3 separate regions of the Homo sapiens genome follow, and regions 2 and 3 are each linked to region 1. Evidence: promoter capture Hi-C in 16 types of primary human blood cells and fetal thymus (Javierre and others, 2016). All regions are on one chromosome and are shown on one strand. Each heading gives the region's core, a stretch centred on a gene start or on the middle of the fragment in contact. The rest is flanking DNA. Distances are from core to core; before and after follow the strand shown.

Region 1 (2,755 bases), core at 84-2,583:
TAGTCTCCACCCCAAAAGTTCAGTCGTCTCTGTCTTGGAGGGCACTGTCGGCCCCCTCAGGTTGAAGTTCAACACTCCTCAATGAGCAGCTGTTCCGAGCTGTACAGCTTCTTCTTGATGACTCGGAAGCCAGTGCTCAGCGTCAGGGACTGGCTGAAGCCAGGGAGGAAGGGAGAGTTGGCGGAGCTAAACAGCCCCTGGATCTTGGGCCAGAGTCGTGAGTCCAGGCGCAGCACGAGGGTCAGCTGGAAGGTGGGCACCAGGCTGGGGTCGAGTGCCAGCTGGCCCACGCTGTGGCAGCTCTTGCCCTGCTCCACGCAGACGTCCAGCAGCGCCCCCCGCAGGCCGCACGGCTCGCTGTAGGCCAGGCGCAGTAGTTCTTTGCCCACCTGGCTTACCAACTGGCTAGGCATCAGCAGGCGCGCAGGGCGTCGAGAGCCCAGCCGCGCCTGGGCCAGGCTCTCCTGCAGCAGCTGCATCAGGTTGGCACACAAGTGTTCATCCTCAGGGTCACTGAGCAGCTCGAAGTCGGGCAACGACACCCCATCCAGGTAAGCCGTGTCTGGAAAGGAGAGCACACAGGAAGGGGTATTAGAGCGGCTTCAAAACGAAACGCACAGGCGGGGGAGGTGCTGTTTCCTTAAGAAACCAACGCTCCTTCCCACTCCGTGCCTCAGTTTCCGCCTCACTCACCTTATACTCCAATTCCCCCTGCCCCCAAGCAATCTGGGTCCCGATGGGATAGGAAGCCAAGGCGGCTCTGACCCCTTCCAGCACCGGGGCTTCCCCACCTTCCCGGCCCCTCGAGTCGCGTCGGCACCCGCCCACCGCTCACCTTCCTCCGGCCCGAAGCCACTGTTGCTGCTGTCCAGGGACTCGCAGTCCGAGCTCTCCAGGCTCGTGGAGCGGTCAAACCCCTCCTCCCGGGTCGCCGACCCCCAGGCTGAGCGCGGCGGCCGATCTGGGGTGGGAGTTCGGGGCAAGGACGAGGGCGAAGAGGAGGTGGACGACGACGAGAAGCGGTCCCAAAGGCTAGGCATGGTGAGGACAGACGCCAGGGCGTTTGCTGATGAACTCAGAGTGCCGGAGCGTAGAAGCCGCTGTAAGACAAGAGGGGGACCGACCAGGCGTCAGTCTGGGGACCAGACCAGACCAGACCGCGAGCTCTAGGACCCACACACAGAAGGGACACTCACCAGCTAGCGCGGTCAGCGAGAACTGCTAAGACAAGTGCGTCCTGCCGCTTGAATGGGTGTGCGAACCCGTGCCAACCACCGAGAGCCGCCCAGACCCGTCCCAGGTCCACGCTCGCACCTCCCCCTTGGCCTGCTGCGCCCTAGCACCAGCGCGGAGCAGCCTATAAGGACTAGCGCGGCGAGGCCACGCCTTCTCTGCGCCACGACCCAATCCAGACCCGGGAGTGTGGCCCGCCTTGGCCAATGGACTCCGGGCGCACGTAAGCAACGTTCTCTCCTGCCCGGTGACAGCGGCCGGGCCCCGCCTCCATTGAGCCCCAGAAAGCTCGCAGTCGAACCCCGACCCACCGCCACGCCCCCTTTCTGGAAAGGATCCGCGGCGGCTGCAGCTGCCAAGGTCCCCGAGGGCGCTCGCGGCAGGGGAGGATCAAGGAAAGACTTGTTTATTATAGGGTTGCATTGCTGGAGGAGGGGACAGCCCGTGACCAGGCTAGGAGGAGAGGCAGGGAAGCGTGAGGGGGCGGCGGGCAAGGAAAATGGTTGCCCCCAGCGTCTTGGATCCTAAAGCTTCGGGAACAACTGGGCACACACGGGGGGGATGCCCGTGGGACGGCGGCGCAGGAGCAGACGTTAGCCCGGCCTGCCCTCGCGCCCTTACCCCCTCTATCCCTGCTTTGCAAAGGCTCGGGATATGGGGGTGGGGTCCACAGACTGGGAAGCTCCGGGCACCATGCTGCCCCTTCCCCAAGGCCCCACCTGCCCATCCTGGCTGTTACTCTACAGCCCAGGACATAGGTTAATGGGGATCCCTGCCTCCTCCCAAACCCTATCTGCTTCCACTTCCAACTGCTCCCAAGGAGAGGGCTTGAGGAGAGTGGTTAGAGGAGTGTGGATGGGCCCGGGTTCATAGCGCCCAGTGCAGGGATGGAAGCGAGGATTCACAGCAGTCGGACTCACAGACCCATCCGCCCTCCCCGCGGACTGCAGGCAGCGCAGCCGGACCTCCCTGCCCGGGCGCCCCCCGGGTCCTAGCACCCAGCGCTCGCCTAGCGCTTTGTGTAAAAGATCCAGACGGTTGCATCAGGACCGAGGACCGAGATCTCTGGAAAAGCCAGGGAGTGCAATGGCCATCCCGTGTTTCATCATTCAGGCGGGGCCACAGGAAATCTGGCCTGGCAGCAGTGCTCAGAGGCTAACAGTGGTTGCTGAGGGTGGGTGGAGGTTGAGACGGACTCGACCTTTATTGCTCTAAAGGTTTATCAGTCTGGGACAGGAGGACCCTGATGGAAGAGGGAGCCAAACTTACATCAGATGCCCAGGGCCCCGGGGGCGGGCAAGGAACCTAACCAGATAGGCGGGCCTTGCCTCGGGTCAGGCTTGCTTTCGCGTGACAAATGACACTTGCAGGAGATGTCAGGCCACTGCCCTCCGCAACCCCCATCCCCACCCCAACTTAGAAAAAAGAAAAAGCTGACACTTGGGCCAAGACTTAGAACCTGAAAGAACCAGAATCCAAGCTCTGCACCCTACTCTCATTTGACAGGTGGGAGACCCACTTA
Region 2 (2,755 bases), core at 130-2,629, 210 kb after region 1:
TGTTTTCATCTTGCAGAGCCCCTGCCTGGGTCTCTAAGCCTTGAAGGGCTCAGTGCATCCCCCCAGCACCAGGGGACAGTCCCATCAGAGGCTGCTTCTCTCCCCACAGAGCCCCCCTGCCTGGCAGAGCTGGAGCGCATCCAGATCCAGGAGGCCGCCAAGAAGAAGCCAGGTGAGGGGCCAGACCAGGCTCTCAGAGGAGGAGGTGGGGACGGCTTCCTGGGTTTGTCTGAGACCCAGGGCCTCCAGCCTTGGGCCTCATGGCAGACATGGAGCCCAGAGGAGGCCCTGGCCTAGGAAGACAGAAGAGGGTTGCCCCCTTCCTGTGTCTATCCTTGTGGTGGGGCAGGGACTCCCAATCTGCCCCGGGAAAAGTGTGTTTTAGGCACTAATTTTATGCCCATCCATGCTGGAGCTAGAGTTTGGGATACAGAAGGATCCTGGAACCCTCCACTGAGTTCAGTTTCCTTCAGCAAGGGTGTGACTAATGTTTTAGTGAGGCCACTCCCTGAGTGACACTCACTCACATGCTCCATAAACACCTGGGGGCCGGCCCCAGAGATACAACAGCAATAGACCCAGCCCAACTCTGAGCGGATGGCAAGAAGGATGCACTCCCTGGCCTCATAACCCTTTAGCTCGGGCCAGTCCGGAAACACACAACACACAAATGGACACACTAAAAAGACAGAACTAGCAGTGTGACCTGTACACAGGCGCCTGGGAGCTTCAGCTGGGGAGCCTGCAGGAAAGCAAGTGGGCCCCGGAGGCAGGTCGGACTCAGAGTGGCTGGGAGGAGAAGGCTGGGCCTTCCTAGCAGGGGACAGCCAGGCCGGCGGAACTGTGGGAGGATGGAGAGTGTCAAACCTGGTGAAGTCAGACTGGCTGTCCTAGAAGACTTGGGCCATGGAGTCAGGGAAACTGATGGGGCGGCTGGGAGCTAGCACAGGGGCCTGAGCAGTGGTTCAAGGAAGCGGGTTTCCTCATCTCCAGCGAGTAGAGCCGAAAGAATTGCTGGCTGGTGTCCAGCTCTCAGCATCTGGGCCTGTTGGGGGGTCAGCACCCGGTCTGGCTGGGCTCTGGGGGTGTATAGACTTCTGCTCATGCATGAGGACCTGAGGTCACCTCTCTGAGGGGCCCACAGCCTGGGCCCCTGCTCTGACCCTGCCTGGCACTGTCTCATTCAGGCATCTTCATCCCGAGCTGCGACGAGGATGGCTACTACCGGAAGATGCAGTGTGACCAGAGCAGCGGTGACTGCTGGTGTGTGGACCAGCTGGGCCTGGAGCTGACTGGCACGCGCACGCATGGGAGCCCCGACTGCGGTACGGGCTGGGCAGCTCAGGGCCTGCTGGGGGCCCAGGCCTGGGGGCCCTTGTCGTGGGATGCTGGGGGGTGCGTGCCAGAAGCTCCCTCACCCCCTGTTGGCTTGATCCCCTCACAGATGACATCGTGGGCTTCTCGGGGGACTTTGGAAGCGGTGTCGGCTGGGAGGATGAGGAGGAGAAGGAGACGGAGGAAGCAGGCGAGGAGGCCGAGGAGGAGGAGGGCGAGGCAGGCGAGGCTGACGACGGGGGCTACATCTGGTAGACGCCCTCAGGAGCCGGCTGCCGGGGGGGACTCAACAGCAGAGCTCTGAGCAGCAGCAGGCAACTTCGAGAACGGATCCAGAAATGCAGTCAGAAGGACCCTGCTCCACCTGGGGGGACTGGGAGTGTGAGTGTGCATGGCATGTGTGTGGCACAGATGGCTGGGACGGGTGACAGTGTGAGTGCATGTGTGCATGCATGTGTGTATGTGTGTGTGTGTGTGGCATGCGCTGACAAATGTGTCCTTGATCCACACTGCTCCTGGCAGAGTGAGTCACCCAAAGGCCCCTTCGGCCTCCTTGTAGCTGTTTTCTTTCCTTTTGTTGTTGGTTTTAAAATACATTCACACACAAATACAAATTGACAGGTCAAAATCCATGAAATGAGATCCCCCAGCCGTGTCCTCCAGCCCAGCCCTGACCCCTTGGTTTCTACCCTGGCTCCCCTTGGTTTCTACCCTGGCTCAACCGACCCCTGTCTGCCCTTCTCCCTCTTGCTTCTGAGGTCAAGCTCTGGCCTGCGAGCCTGTCCCCATTGCAAAGGGGAGGGAGGGGCAGGGAGCTGTCTACCAGCTGAGGTCCTCCCAAAACTGGGCCGATGTGGTGTGACATCCCCACCAGCCTCAGATGAGACGGGCCAGGACGCCCAGCCACAGCAAGCCCTGTCCCTTTGCCGGATCCCCAAACACTAGAGAAGCTCTCCTAACCCAAGGCGGAGAATGAAGGTGGTGGCGGCAGAGGAGGAGGGCAGCAGCTGAGAGGCCAGGGACAGGGTGCCTCGCCAAGCTGTCTGAGGTCTGTCCCAGGTGGCCCAGGTGGTGCAGGTAGAACAGGGTGAGGAGAGGGGGTCGGCTCAGCAGGAGGAGGCTGTGGCTGCAGAGCCTGGGGGAGCTTTTAGGTGTTGAGATGGGGCAGCTCTGAATCCTAGACCCTGGAATAGCCTGTCCCTTTTCTCTGGGTCTCGTGGTGGAGCCATGATCTGGGCTGCTCTCTTGGGGACACTGGGTGGTGGTTACACAGTTGACCTCTGCCTGGCTCCCCCTTGGTGCAACTCCTGCCTCCATCCCCCTTGCTGGGGTCCCCTCATCCACTTGAGGGCGCCTGAGGGCCAGGAGCAGCAGGCAAGGAGCCTGGGTCTAGGCTAAGGGGGTGTGTGCCCACCTCCTC
Region 3 (2,755 bases), core at 142-2,641, 150 kb after region 1:
AGCCTCACAAAATGTTGGGATTATAGGAGTGAGCTACCACACCCAGCTAAGGGTGTGGTAGCTAAGGTCTTTTTGTTGGTTAGAAGTGTGTGTTGGTTAGAAGTGTGTGGGTTTTTTTTTTTTTTTTTGAGACTGCGTCTGGTTCTGTTGCCCAGGCTGGAGTGCAGTGGCACGATTTTGGCTCACTGCAACCTCCGCCCCTGCAGGTTCAAGCAATTCTCATGCCTCAGCCTCCCACGTAGCTGGGACTACAAGCATGTGCCACCACACCCAGCTACTTTTTGTATTTTCAGTAGAGATGGGGTTTCACCATGTTGGCCAGGATGGTCTTGAACTCCTGATGTTGTGATCCGCCCACCTTGGCATCCCAAAGTGTTGGGATTACAGGCGTGAGCCGCTGCGCCTGGCTGAAGTGTGTGGTTTAATTTCCACCTATTTTGGGATTTTCCTGCTATCTTTGTTATCACTTTCAAGTTTAATTTCATTGTGGCCTGAGAGCAGACACTGTATGATTCTATTCTTTTAAATTTATTACAGCGTATTTTATGGCCCAGAATGTGATCTGTTTTAGTCAGTGTTTCCTGTGAGCCTGAGAAGAACATGTAATCTGCTGTTGTTGGATAAAATATTCTATAGATGTCAATTATATCCAGTCAGTTGGTAGTGCTGTTGAGTTCTACTATATCCTCACTGATTTTATGCCTTCTGGATCTGTCCATTTCTGATACATGGGGTTAGTTAAAGTCTCCAACTATAATAGTGAGTTCATTGTTTCTTCTTGCTTCTGTCAACTTTTGCCTCATGTATTTTGACACTGTTTTTAGGCACATATGTGTTAAGGATTGTTAGGTCTTCTTGGACAGTTGATCTTTTTATCATTATGTATTGCTCCTCTTTATTCATAATAACTTTCCTTGCTCTGAAGTTTGCTCCATCTGAAATTAATATAGCTACTCAACTTTCTTTCAGTTAGTGTTAGAATGGTATATCTTTCTTCATCCCTTTATTTACTTTTCTTTTTTTTTTTTTTAAGAACCCATCTATGCTGGGACATCCCTTTATTTTTAATCTCTGTGTGTCTTTATATTTAAAGTGAGTCTCTTGGCTGGGTACAATGCCTCATGCCTGTAGTCCCAGCGCTTTGGGAGGCCCATGTGGGAGGATCACTTGAGGCCAGGAGTTCAAGACCAGCATAAGCAACACAGTGGGACCCTGTCTCTACAAAAAATTAAAAAAATTAGCTGGGCATGGTGGTGCACGCCTGTAGTCCCAGCTACTTTGGAGGCTGAGGTGGGAGGATCGCTTGTGCCTGGGAGGTTGAGGCTACAGTGAGCTATGATTGCACCATTGCACTCCAGCCTGTGTGACAGAGCAAGACCCTGTCGCAAAATAAATGAATAAATAAAAAGTCGGTCTCTTATAGACAATATATTGTTTGGCTGCTTTATTATTATTATTTTAATTTAACACTCTCTGTCTCTTAATTGGTGTATTTAGACCATTGATGTTTAAAGTGATTATTGATTAATATAGTTGGATTAATGTTTATTATATATGTTACTGTTTTGTATTTGTTGCCCTTGTTCTTTGTTTCTATTTTTGCCTCCCACACTTTTTCTGCCTTTTTTGGTTTATTTGAGCATTATATATAATTTCTTTTTCTCTTCTTTCTTAGCATATCGCTTATACTTGTTTCTCCCTCATTTTTTGAAGGATAATTTCACAGGGTTCAGAATTCCAGGTTGATGGAGTTTCTTTCTCTCAACAGTATTTCACTCCACTCTCTTTTTGATTGCATGGTTTCTGAGGAAAAGTCAAATGTAATTCTTATCTTGGCTTCTATATAGGAAAAGTATTTGTTTTTTCCCTTCGGCTTCTTTCACGATTTTTTCTTTATCTTTGGTTTTCAGAAGTGTGACTATGATATGCCTAGGTACAATTTTTTTTTTTTTTTTGGTCTTTATTCTGCTTGGTACTCTCTGAGCTTCCTAGATCTGTGGTTTGGAATCTGACATTAATTTAGGAAAATTCTCAGTCTTTATTCCTTCAAATATTGTTTCCATTCCTTTTTTTCTTCTCCTGGTATTTGCATTGTGTGCACCTTATATCTTTCGTAGTTGTACCACAGTTCTTGGATATTCTGTTGTGTTTTTTCAGTCTTTGTTCTCTGCTTTTCAGTTTGGGAAGTTTCTGTTGTCATATCCTCAAGCTCAGAGATTCTTTCTCAGCCATGTCCAGTCTGCTAATGAGCCCATCAAAGGCATTCTTTATTTTTGTTACAGTATTTTTATTATTTATTTATTTACTTATTTATTTATTTGAGATGGAGTCTCACTCTGTCGCCCAGGCTGGAGTGCAGTGGTGCAGTCTCGGCTCACTGCAACCTCCGCCTCCTGGGTTCAGTCAATTCTCTCGCCTCAGCCTCCCGAGTATCTGGGATTACAGGCACCCGCCATCATATCTGGCTAATTTTTGTAGAGATGGGATTTCACCATGTTGGCCAGGCCAGTCTTAAACTCCTGACCTCAGGTGATCCGCCTGCCTCGGCCTCCAAAAGTGCTGGGATTACAGGCGTGAGCCACTGCACCCAGCCTGTTACAGTGCTTTTAATCACTAGTATTTCTCTTTGATTCTTTCTTAGAATTTCCATCTCTCTGCCTGCATTATCCATCTGTCCTTGCATGTTGTCTCCTTTATCCATTGGAGTCCTTAGCATATTAATCATAGTTGTTCCCAGTATGATAATTCCAGCACG

The links. Contacts are between HindIII fragments. The CHiCAGO score rates a contact against its expected background, and 5 or more counts as called.
Region 2: a fragment that was not itself captured here is called in contact with the fragment with the promoter of DDIT4 in region 1 in 5 of 17 cell types (total CD4 T cells, naive CD8 T cells, total CD8 T cells and 2 more); the score reaches 8.7 in total CD4 T cells.
Region 3: a contact is called between a fragment that was not itself captured here and the fragment with the promoter of DDIT4 in region 1, in 3 of 17 cell types (non-activated CD4 T cells, total CD4 T cells and total CD8 T cells). The highest score is 5.9, in non-activated CD4 T cells.

Annotation. Positions count from the first base shown.
Region 1 is chr10:72,272,502-72,275,256 of GRCh38, reverse strand. DDIT4 (DNA damage inducible transcript 4) reads right to left here and starts at 1,333. Exons shown (of 3, transcript NM_019058.4): 1 at 1,197-1,333; 2 at 836-1,100; 3 at 1-562. The coding sequence starts at 1,040. The coding sequence ends at 69. DDIT4-AS1 (DDIT4 antisense RNA 1) reads left to right here and starts at 1,546. Exons shown (of 2, transcript NR_186445.1): 1 at 1,546-2,407; 2 at 2,740-2,755. RefSeq lists enhancers at 959-1,078, 1,789-2,312, 2,313-2,755. The HindIII fragment of the contact is 3,971 bases long and covers 1-1,765 here.
Region 2 is chr10:72,061,595-72,064,349 of GRCh38, reverse strand. SPOCK2 (SPARC (osteonectin), cwcv and kazal like domains proteoglycan 2) reads left to right here. Exons shown (of 11, transcript NM_001244950.2): 9 at 110-172; 10 at 1,188-1,325; 11 at 1,445-2,755. The coding sequence ends at 1,590. Among named protein-coding and RNA genes, the nearest start is that of SPOCK2, 26 kb to the left of the region's middle. The HindIII fragment of the contact is 6,001 bases long and covers 1-2,755 here.
Region 3 is chr10:72,119,793-72,122,547 of GRCh38, reverse strand. All of the region lies in intron 9 of ASCC1 (activating signal cointegrator 1 complex subunit 1), which reads left to right. Among named protein-coding and RNA genes, the nearest start is that of SPOCK2, 33 kb to the right of the region's middle. The HindIII fragment of the contact is 3,620 bases long and covers 1-2,755 here.